3 separate regions of the Homo sapiens genome follow, and all the other regions are linked to region 3. The links are contacts of gene promoters, found by promoter capture Hi-C in human tissues and cell types (Jung and others, 2019). All regions are on one chromosome and are shown on one strand. Each heading gives the region's core, a stretch centred on a gene start or on the middle of the fragment in contact. The rest is flanking DNA. Distances are from core to core; before and after follow the strand shown. Region 1 overlaps GPC5 (glypican 5). Region 2 overlaps GPC5 (glypican 5). Region 3 holds the start of GPC5 (glypican 5).

Region 1 (3,816 bases), core at 114-2,613, 340 kb before region 3:
CATGGATTTGTCTGTGAACTTTCTTTTTCTGGGAACATTCATGGGATTCTCAGTGGGATACATGATCCCCAAAGGTTAAGAACCACTAGCCTGAACTTTTGCCATATGTTTGCTCTGCCTTCTGGCATTTGCTTTTCCTGTGCGCCTGTAGTTTGACCCCCTGCAGGTCCTGATCTTCATTATTCATGTAGGTCTTGACTCTGGCCTGCCTTGTAGCTCATGAGCTCATGTTCCCTCCATACCTGCTCTGGCCTCCTATCCAAAGCTTTGTCTTGGCCTGCCCTGCTCTGGAAGCCCTCAGTACCACCACCTAACAAGCACTGTTTTACATTAAGCAGATTTTTTTTCATTGAAAACATGACCTTTATTTTCACAAGTTAAGTTTACAGGTAATAAATAATGATGGCACCTCAAAGACGCACTAACTTTCACTTACGAGGAAATAGATTGTAAACTGCTTTCTCTGCTACTATAAATGATATTAAATTTTTCTGAAAGAATCGACTATTTTTTCAGACCTATGAATATTTTCATCCACTGAATATTTGTATATACAATTCATCATTAAGTCCAGTATATCTCAATACTGATTTACCATCTAAACAAACATATATACTCAGTGTGTAATATCAAGAATTTTTAAATTTAACTTTGGATTCATTAATAAAGTGTTGTATTAGATAAGATTTGACTATGTAACTATAAGCTCTATGTTTTTTTATTATAAACTCTATGCATTTTAAACTAACTGATGCCATTTAATATGAATCTATCTACCTTAGCAATAATCTTAAATAACATTAAGTGTTCTTCACTGAATAAACATTTAAAATTTTTTCCCACGTTTAATTATTTTGAACACTTCCCTGTGTTTTTCTGTAATGTACAGGATATTAATTTACTTTAGTTGACAGTGACATTCTGAATGAGAATCATGCCCTGCCTCATTTCTTTCATTAAACTGCAATTTCAAGTGTCCTCTTTGCTTTCTGTTCTTAATAAATAAAACTGTTAATGTTCCAAGTGATAAAATTCTCACTCAAATCACGATTTAATAAATGCATTAGAATGAACTGGAAATGTCTAATGATATAATATTTCAATTAAGTTCTGAAGACAAAATTGAAAAAAACTCAAAATTTATATTTTGTTTCAAAAAAATCCAATATTTCTAAAAATTCTGCATTCCCCACCTTGACATCAAAATCCTGTCTGATAGTAAAAATATCTTATTTTTACTAAGCACCTAGGACACTCCCTATTATGCAAATACACACTCATGCATGCAGCCAATCCCCTTAATCATGCATTCTGAAATGAGAGGCCTGGCTAATTGGAATGCTTGCTGGAGAACAGATGGGGCACTGGTGTTGAGACTCCATCTTAATTTATTGTCCTGGGGTTTTCCTAATTACCTACTTAATTGGCACAGCCACACCACTTTGAAATAATAATGTACAGCTAATTATCACCGATTTAAGCTTGCTAATAGCTTATTCTTACCAGCTAACTTCAAGAAATCAAGCAGAGAGCAGGAACTGCCACAGGGAAATCACTCTGCCTGGCCTGCTTTAGACAACTATATGAGCGCAATGTCCTTTACAGCTGTGTTGATTTGGTCTCTGCTCAAAAAGGGAAAATTGTGATGCTTTGCTGGCTGTTTAAAGGAGCAGTAGCTCTTCCTTACTTTGCTCAACTTTGGAGACCTCCGTAACTGGTATGTATCAATCACTCAGGGTCTTTGATGTGCACATTATTAGCATGCTATATAAACAGAAATGGATTGGGGAAATTGAATCAGGACAATTACGTCTCCAAAATAAAAGAATCCAACTCTATGGTTTAGCTCCCCTCTCTCCAAGCTAAAAGAAGACTCACAATGTCCACAAAGGAGCTTAGCACAACTCTTATCCAGGAATAAGGAAATTTTCCTTCTTCAAATGTTAGAAGCAAAACAAGGAAAAAGCAATGTATTTAACAGAAGGGACCTCTGTGAAATGAATATAGAAAAACAGGGAGAAAAAAATGGTTAGGAACTTGGGAATATTAAGAGATTTCTCTATCCTAAGGAGAGGATACTGTAATCCTGCCTTCACTTACTCTCATTCTGCATTTATTTTAGGTACCTTTAAAAATTCAGGCATCTCTAGGTCAGATTCCCTAGAAGCAGTGCCTAAGACAGTAATCAGTATGCAGGCAACTCATCAGGGAGTGCTTTTAGGTAAAAGCGAGAAAGGGAAGCAAGGGCAGGTGTGGCGGAAGAAGCTAAGTGGGGATGTGGGCTCAGCTTCAGCCAGATACCACAAGAAGCACTGAAGCATGCATTTCACCAGGTTTGGTCCCACACCTTGAAGCAAGGGGCAAGCCTCTTCTATCCCTGTGTCAGTCAGTCATTGCCTGTAAGTTGCTGCCAAGAGCCTGAGGTAGGTGGCAGTCTAATCCCTTTCCACAGGTGGATGAGATGGATGAGAGCCAGTCTCCATGATAACTCCCCACAGTTTCATCCCTCATGCCTTTGCATAGTCCCCTTCTACAATGAAGAGGGATGACCTGTGTAACCTATGGAATATTGCAAAAACAATAGTATGTGATTTCTGAGTCCAGCTCATATAAGACGGCAGCCTCTGCCTTGCTCTCTCTTAGATTTCTTGTTCTGAGGGAAGTTAGCCGCAATGTGAAGACACTCAAGCAGTCCTATGGAGAGGTCACTGTGACAACAAACGGAGGCCTCCCACCAACAGCCATGTGAGCAAGCAATCTTGGGAGATGATACTCCAGCCCCACTTGAGCTTTCAGATGACCACAGCCCTAGCTGCCTTCTTGACAGCAGTCTCTCTAATGACCCTGAGCATGAACCCCGCAACTAATTAGCTCCCAAATTCCTAACAGAAAATAGGATAATAAATGCTTATGGTTGGTTTAAGCCACTACGTTTTGGAATGATTTGTTAGATTGCAATAGATAAGAAATAATACCAATGGCTCCTATTTGTTGAAGGCAATTTCCCAGGGACTAGAGCAGCTATGAGTTGGAACACAGCAGCCAGGAGGCAGGTAAAAGGGCCAGGTGAAGAGGATATGAGTAGGGCCAACAGCAGCACCCACAACCTTAGTTATTTCTCATATTATATTTGTTCCACTACACTTTCCATACCACTTAGACACAACGTGTAATGTTATGAAGTTAATGAGGGCTCAGTCATGAACTTAACGATGGCTTAGACATTTTCATTTTTAAAATGTTAATTGGCAACAATGTACAATTCAAGACCTTGTGAAAATATTCTTCAAAAATGAAGATGTCTGCAGACAAATGAAAGCTGCAAAAATTCATCACCTGTAATAATCAACAAAAGCTATACTAAGGCTAAAGCAAAAAGATTCTAGATAAACACATGAAACTGGAGAAAAAAACAAGAGCACCAGAAAGGATAAAATGTGTGAGAAATTATAAGTAAGTATTATTATATAGCAGTAGTTGTCCTGGGGATTGTGAAAATATTGGTAAGAGTAAGCTATTTGTTGGTAAAATAGCATAAAAAAAGGGAAGAGGGTAATGGAGTGAAACTATCCTAAGTTTCTTATATTGTTCAATGAAGTAGTAAAAGTTACAATTTAGACAGTAAAAATTAAAAATGCATATTGTGATCTCTATAATAACCATTAAGAGAATAAAGAAATACAAATTTAAAAAGTTATAAAAGGATAAAAATAATAAATATTTGTTAAACTCAAAAGAAGGCAAGAAAGGAGGAATTTTTAAAAAAGACATGCAGTAAAGAGAAAAAAAAGAGCAAGACAGCAGTCTTAAGCCCAG
Region 2 (3,594 bases), core at 453-2,952, 260 kb before region 3:
TGGCTCACACCTGTAGTCCTAGCTACTCGAGAGGCTGAGGCAGGGGGATCACTTGAGCCTAGGAATATGAAGTTACAGTGAGCTTTGAACATGCCACTGCACTCCAGCCTGAATGAGAGAGTGAGACCCTGTCTCTAAAAAGAAAAGCAAAGAAACAAAATCAGTTTCAAATTCAGGGGGAAAAAAGAGGCTAAAATATAAGAATAATAAGCACATATATTTATACAGCAAAATGTAGGTATACTCACAACATGGACAAGCATATATTGGTATGTACACGGAGTGAGGAAATAAATGTCATGTAATGCTTGACCTGAAAACCTTCCATATGTAACTAAAAACTGAAATAATGAGAACTAAACCTGGCAAAATATTAGGAATCTTATGTTCCCCCAAATATGGGTCTTTACAATTGTCTGTGGCCGCAAATCCAATATTGAATATAACCATACTGAACTAAGTACTGGAGAGAATAAGTCAAGAACGTTTGTATTCTTACCTAGAAAATCAAGCCTTCCACTACTAGAAGATCTTGATTAAGATCTCTCCTCCCCACAACCTCTTAGACATTGTAAGTGAGGCAACAGTAGCTGTAGCTGCCTTCCCCATCTTGCAGGCTAGCCTTACACAAAATCTAGTTCCAGTTTCCTCTCACAGCTCTGATTTATCCATCTCTCTCTGTTTTGCTGGAATTCCAGCATGCATAGCAGCTGTAGCCAAGCTGTGTTTGGAAAGTCATTGGATGACTTAAGCTTGAAAGAGTAATGACATCACAGGTAGTATATGTTTTGGAGAGAGTGCCAGCAGGAGTAATGGAGCATTCCTTGGAAGCAGGAAGATACTATGGGAGTAGTGAGATGGTAATATGGTAATAATGAGCACAGCAAGATACTAGGGTAATAGTCCAGGTGAGAAACAATACAGAACCAAATGAAAATCCCTGGGGTAATAACAATAGGAGATGGAAGAAAATAATATTAAAAGATAAAACTGAATGAGGGAACAAGATTAGATATCTAAATGTTCGCACCAGTTAAGAGATTTATTACTTAGATCATAAGGGGAAAAATTCTTCTCATACTTTTACTGCCCCAATTTTCTGCAGCTCTTTGTATCAAAATTACTCAAGATTTATACATTATCATTCTCTCCAATTCTCTTTCCAATTCTCTATAAAACTGACTTTTATCAAGATGTCACCTCTACTTCACCAAATTAATCCTGCAAACTTCACCAGTGACTTCCATTTGATTGCCAAATCAGTTGGTGAATTTCAGTCCTCATCATAGGTGACATGTCAGCAACATTTGGCGGTCTCTCATTCCCTCCTCCTTAATACATTTTCTTTACTTGATTTCCAATATACTCTACTTTCTTGGTCTTCCTTCTGCCAACCTTACTGGTCATGTTTTTCTCAGCCTCTTTGGCTGTTTCCTTCTCTTCCTCCATCCTTCTAATTGAAAAGGTCCCAGGGCTCCTGCCTCAGTTCTCTTCTTCCCTCTGTTTCACTCACTTTTTGATGATCTCATCCAATCTCATAGCTTTAAATACCATATGTGAGCCAATGACTCCCAATTGTGTATCTCCAGCCTAGATCTCTTGTCTGAACTCTAGACATGTCTAGACTGTGCTCAAAACAGCAGTTTAATGAAATTTCTAAGACATAAGACCGTGCCAGTTCATTGCTGACAACTTTATGACTGTTCCCCACTCCACTTGAAGTAACAATAGCGTTCTTAAAAAGTCCCACAGGGCCCTGAATGATCTGACCCCTCGTTGCTTCTCTCACTTCCTCTCCTAATTCTCTCACTTTCTCTGATTCCAGTCTGGCTATGCTGGCTTCCTTACAGTCCTTTAAACACACCAAGGACATTCTTGACTTACAGACTTTCCCCCAACTCTCAGGAATATTCTTCCCTAGATGTCCTCATGGCCTCTTTCAATTCTCTGTGCCAATGTCACCTTCTCAATGAGGTTTTCTCCAGTAGATCTATTTAATATAACCCACTCTCAAGCCCTATGTAGAAGGTTCTACTTTTTTTTCCCCACAGTACTTATCACATAATGCATTGCATAAATGACTTATTTATTATGGCAATGCAACAAGCATAATTGCCAGAAAGTAAACCTAAGAGTTCTTGATGAGGGACAGAGGAACCTGCCCCCAATCCTGGCTGGAGGGGCTGCACCTGAACTCAGGCCCCATGGAAATCCACATGCCCAGGGGCATCTTCTCCTGGAATGAGGGCCTGAAAATTCCCAGGGTTACCAGGTATCGAACATCTGGCTTTTTCAAAAAACAATTCTAAAATGCTGCCCAGATATTCTGCTCAAATAGTCATTCCAACAGCCAGCAAAGTTGTCCACATGCCATCACAGTAAGAAAGAAAAGCAACAGAGGGTGATGTCCCTTCACCGCAACCCAGATCCACTGCATGGCCAGCAGAAGGCCCTGCCAGACTGTGGAAGAATCAGGGGACCCATACTTCTCTCGGTGACCCTTGCCTTACAGTGTGTATCAACAAAGCCTATTCTACCCCTGCAAGGATGTAGAATCTGCCCTTATTCCACACACAAGTAATATGTTTATTATTTCTTTTATATTTTTTTCTCAAAAGAATGTAAGCTCCACAAGAGCAAGTAATTGTGTTCCATTCTAAGTGACAGCACATTGCCTTGTACATAGTAGATACTAAATATTTGGTTCAAAAATCAAAGAAGACTAGAGATTTTTTTAGCCAGTGGGTGGGGTAAATGATTTCATTAAATAAAATAATAGAGAAGGAGGAGAAGGTTTAAGAAGGAGTAGTGACTTAACTTTCTGACTTAGATTTTGTATTTCTGAGATAGAAATGGTCCCTTCTGAGAAATACTACAATTGTCTATGCCTTCCAGATAAACCTACCTGAAATCCTTGAGCTAAATTTCCTGGTGATCTGATTAACAAAAGACCATATCCTTCCCATCTGTATTAGTTAACTATTGCTGCAAACAGATGATCCCAAAATTTAGTGGTTGATGACAACAAATATTTATTATTGCATAGATTCTATTTGTCAGAAATCAGACAGTAACTTACAGGAAGAGTCTCAGCTGAGGATCTTCTACAAGGTTATGTTCAGGGAATCTGCCGGGAATGCAGTCATCTCCAAGCTTCACTGGGTGAGGATCTGCTTCCAAGCTCAATCATGTGATTATTGGCAGGCCTCAGATATTTGCTTCCAGGCTCACTTATGTGGGCCACTCCACAGGGTGCCTCATAAGAGACTCAATATTTAGACAATGGGCAGACCATACATAAAAATAAAACTCTGACCCACAAGCTGCCACAACCAGTTTGGAAAGCCAAACCATAACCTCTGCAGCAAACCATCCAGGAAGTCAAACCACAGCCTCTGTAGCAATCAGCCCCAAATGGCCAAAACTTAATCAATAACTGATAACCTCCAATTTTTTGTTTGCTGTTTCCAATGTAGAGCCAGCTAGACAAACCCAAACATGTTTCCCCTAACCAACCACATATGATGCCCTGCTTCTATTTATTCTTTTGACAGTTTCCCCATGCCAACAGCCTCTAACAACCTGAAGCCTTTC
Region 3 (3,493 bases), core at 700-3,199:
GCAGCCAATAAAGTGAGATTTATTTCCTAATGAAAAGAATGCACTAAGAAAAATACAGATCTATAAGGCGATATTTTATTTGGGGATAGAAGAATCGCCCTAAACTGAGAATGTCAACTTTGTTTCAAGTAATACAGAAAAAGCACCTAGTACCAAACAGGTATACAAAGAAATAGCTGGGTTTAAGACTGGTCATGTAAACTCAAATGGAGTCAGTGTTCCCGAATGCCTAGATTTTCTTTCTGGGATGACTTAAAATTGAGCAAAGCAATCAAGAAAAGCGGCTACAGCTCACACTTCCTCATTGCTACAAGCAAGTCCCCCAACCCTGGAAACTCGGGACTTTAGACTTAAGCGTCCTCCACAAGTTCTTTGTTCAACCAGTAACCTCACAGATTCGTCTGTGTTGGCTTCATAGTCACAGCTAAAGGGGTGCATGGCTCTAGTGAGATCTTACTTAGCTCTAGACACCTGCTATTGCGTTTGACAGCTATGACCTATTCTTCCAGACAGAACCTACACTGGAACTCCCACCAGCAGAAGGAAATTGGTGCGGTGGAAACGGGGAGCAGGGTTCGAAAGCACAGGCAAAAGGCGCTCACAGGAAGCAAGATCCACGCTGGCCACACAAACTGTATCTTTCCCTTTGGAACGCTGGTACATCTCATCCATGTCAAGTGACTCCCCAGTACGTTCGGTTTGATCGCCTGTTGCCCTAACACTTTTCAGGCTAAAAACTACCTTGGTGCTGGGAGACACACTGGGTGGTTGGGTTTCCTCCAAGCAGGGCTTGATACGAGGGCACAGAAGGGCAGCTAAGGGTCACGTCTCTGGGTGCACAGGGTCCAAGTCCTAATTACAGAGGAGACCGGCTGCCCTTGTCTGTGCCCCATTCTCCAGCAAAGGGGTATATCGCAGGTTTGTGATTTTTAGTACCAAACTTGGGGCGATCAATTCAATTCCCTCCACCTTATGAGAAAGCAGTAAACCGAAATCCCCGGTGGGGCACTGGGGAAATTCCTACTCGGAAGAGAAACGGAGTTAGACTGCGTGTCCCCCACGCCCTGATGTCTGCTTTCCTGGTTCCTTCCAACTCATCCTCCAAGACGAAGGGAGCCGGGCGGGAAGCAGATGCCCAGAACGGGGATTCGTCGCAGGCTTGGTTAGGGGTCCCCAGAGCTGCGCTGCGCTGCACTCAGGCTACCCGCACCAAGCATCCCCGGAAGCCTCCCCGGGATTCACCCTGCGCGGCTGCAGGGCCCGAAAGGTCATCTTCCCACGAGTGCCACCAAGGGAGCCTGGGGGAGCGAAGGCCGGGCTCGGACGCCGCCAGTCCAGAGACCCCCTCATTGCCCCTTACCTGCCCGCGGCGAATCCGGCAGCCCCCTGACAGCTCCCAGCAGCCGCCACTGGAAAAGTTTCCGAACTTCTTCGCAGGTCTGCACGCCCTCGCTGCGGGCGGACCCAACCAGGGCCAGAAGGAGGAGGCAGCGAAAGCCCACGGGCCAGGTCTGTGCGTCCATCCTCGCCGTCCTGGTCCCCTTTACCCGCCAGTGGACCCCACTCGCCCTGCGCGCCCTGGCTGAGCTGCAGACGTGGAAGACACAGCGGCCGAGGCTCTCGAGCGGTGCGAGCCGGCTGCGGGGTGTACGGACCGCCCGCGGGCACCGGCTTCACCTGGGAGCAGTTAGCTCTTCCCGGAGGAGGCCCTAAGCTGAGACACCAGAGTTTTCCAGCTGAGCACCCTCTGGTCTTCTTCCCTAGCCGAGAAGAGTGGGCGGCTGGGCGGGGCGAAGAAAACTAGTGGAGCCGCAGGGAGCCCGCAAGCATCCGCTCTGGCCACCACTGCTGCAACTGCTGCCGCTGCCGCCACTGCCGCCACTGCCGCCACTGCCGCCGCCGCCGCCGCCTCCGCCGCCCGGCTCGGCTCGCAGCAGCTAACCTGGGATGTGCCCGCTCGCTGCGCTCCGCGGAAGCCCCGCCCCGCACTCCCCGCCCCGCGGACAGGCCACGCCCCTGCCACGCCCCCGGCGCGCTGTCCCGCTCCGCACCCACTAAGATGCTGTCATACGCGGCCCAGTGCTGAAGACTCGGAGCGACATCGATGCAAATAAATAGAAGGAAACCCGGACCTCGCTCTCCCAGTCCGTTCTGGGGAAGAATCATCTGATAAAAACAGAGAATGTATAAATAGGGTCAGAGAAGACAAGAGATGAGAAACACCAACTGGAACTAAGAAATATCTCATCTATGTAATCAAGGTCCTCAGTACATAGGAATTTGTATTCTAATTGCATTAAATAGGATCTGGACATAATACAAAAGGCAAAAACTATTTACGGTTAAAGATCTCAATTGAGAGACTTCATAACACTTAGGTTGTTAAAGAGTGCACATGAGAAGTTATTTTTTAAAATGGCTTTGTTTTACTGCTTAGGAACATTTTTCTATAACATGATTTTCTGAAAGGAGGTATAAGAATTACAATCAAACTTTATCACATTCTTATCACAATGAAATCTAGTTTTAAGTCTCTTATCACCATTTAGCATCATATTTTACTTCAGCACTTTGTATTTGTGGGGCTCCTCTGAGCTTTACCACTTCTGGAATTTCTTTAAAATATTTTTCAGAGAGCAATTAAGTTAAGAGTGCTCAGGGGAGTTCCTTACAAGGAATATAGAAAAATAAATACTTTAAGCAATTTTAAAATGGCAAAGGAATTTTGTCAATTTACAGTTTATGAGAGGAATGCATTACGCACCATAAACCAAAGGGCAGGTGCATTTTTTAAATGTGGTTGACTCAACAACTAAGCCTGTAAGAGTGTCTCAATCTACAGCCACTTGAAGAGAGTACTCCTTCTGTAAAATAAACTAGTTAAAAGCATCAGGCAGAGGGGACAATGAATGCTTTAACCACTTTAAGGAATTTCATCTCAAATTTGAACCCTTACCAAGAGATAGTAGTGAAAAACTTTATGTCTTAGTGAAGATTTTTAATGAACATTTAATATCAAAGGCAGCACTTTCAGCAGTATATCACTTGCTTTAAAACCATTCCAGGGCAATGGCTGAAACACTGCTTCAGAGTGAAATCATGCTACTTGGTGTTTGGCATCAGTTTTCTGAATATGAGATTTTGTTTCAAAGGGCAGTGCTCTTCATGAATCTCTTCTGCTCTAACCACCAAGTATGGAAAGATTGTCTGGAAGCCACCTATATCTATGAAAAGAAACAAGAAAAACCATGAGAATGTATATAGTGCTTATGGGCCAGATAATATTCTAAGTATTTTATGGAAATGAATTCACTCATGTAATCTTTATAACAACCTTATAAAGTAGTTACTACTATTATCATTGTTTTACAGATGAGGAAACAGGAACACAGAGGTGAAGTGACTTACTGAATGCCTAAGGTAAGTGACAAAGCCAGAAATCAAACTGAGGCTTCCAAATCCAGACCGCATGCTCTTCTCCAGAGGCTCTCCT

Evidence for each region. The method cuts DNA at HindIII sites, captures the fragments that hold promoters and counts their contacts. A contact is called where the count stands out against the background at its distance.
Region 1: a fragment that was not itself captured here is called in contact with the fragment with the promoter of GPC5 in region 3 in 1 of the 25 tissues and cell types used here (dorsolateral prefrontal cortex).
Region 2: a fragment that was not itself captured here is called in contact with the fragment with the promoter of GPC5 in region 3 in 2 of the 25 tissues and cell types used here (dorsolateral prefrontal cortex and lymphoblastoid cells).

Annotation. Positions count from the first base shown.
Region 1 is chr13:91,738,532-91,742,347 of GRCh38, reverse strand. The region is part of intron 4 of GPC5 (glypican 5); the gene reads right to left. Among named protein-coding and RNA genes, the nearest start is that of GPC5, 340 kb to the right of the region's middle. The HindIII fragment of the contact is 3,119 bases long and covers 1-2,922 here.
Region 2 is chr13:91,660,017-91,663,610 of GRCh38, reverse strand. The region is part of intron 2 of GPC5 (glypican 5); the gene reads right to left. Among named protein-coding and RNA genes, the nearest start is that of GPC5, 260 kb to the right of the region's middle. The HindIII fragment of the contact is 3,363 bases long and covers 21-3,383 here.
Region 3 is chr13:91,397,077-91,400,569 of GRCh38, reverse strand. GPC5 (glypican 5) reads right to left here and starts at 1,949. Exons shown (of 8, transcript NM_004466.6): 1 at 1,361-1,949. The coding sequence starts at 1,523. It overlaps LOC124903189 (a long non-coding RNA gene), which reads right to left. Exons shown (of 2, transcript XR_007063831.1): 1 at 3,409-3,493; 2 at 2,982-3,224. RefSeq lists silencers at 1,865-2,134, 1,841-2,135. The HindIII fragment of the contact is 16,121 bases long and covers 1-3,493 here.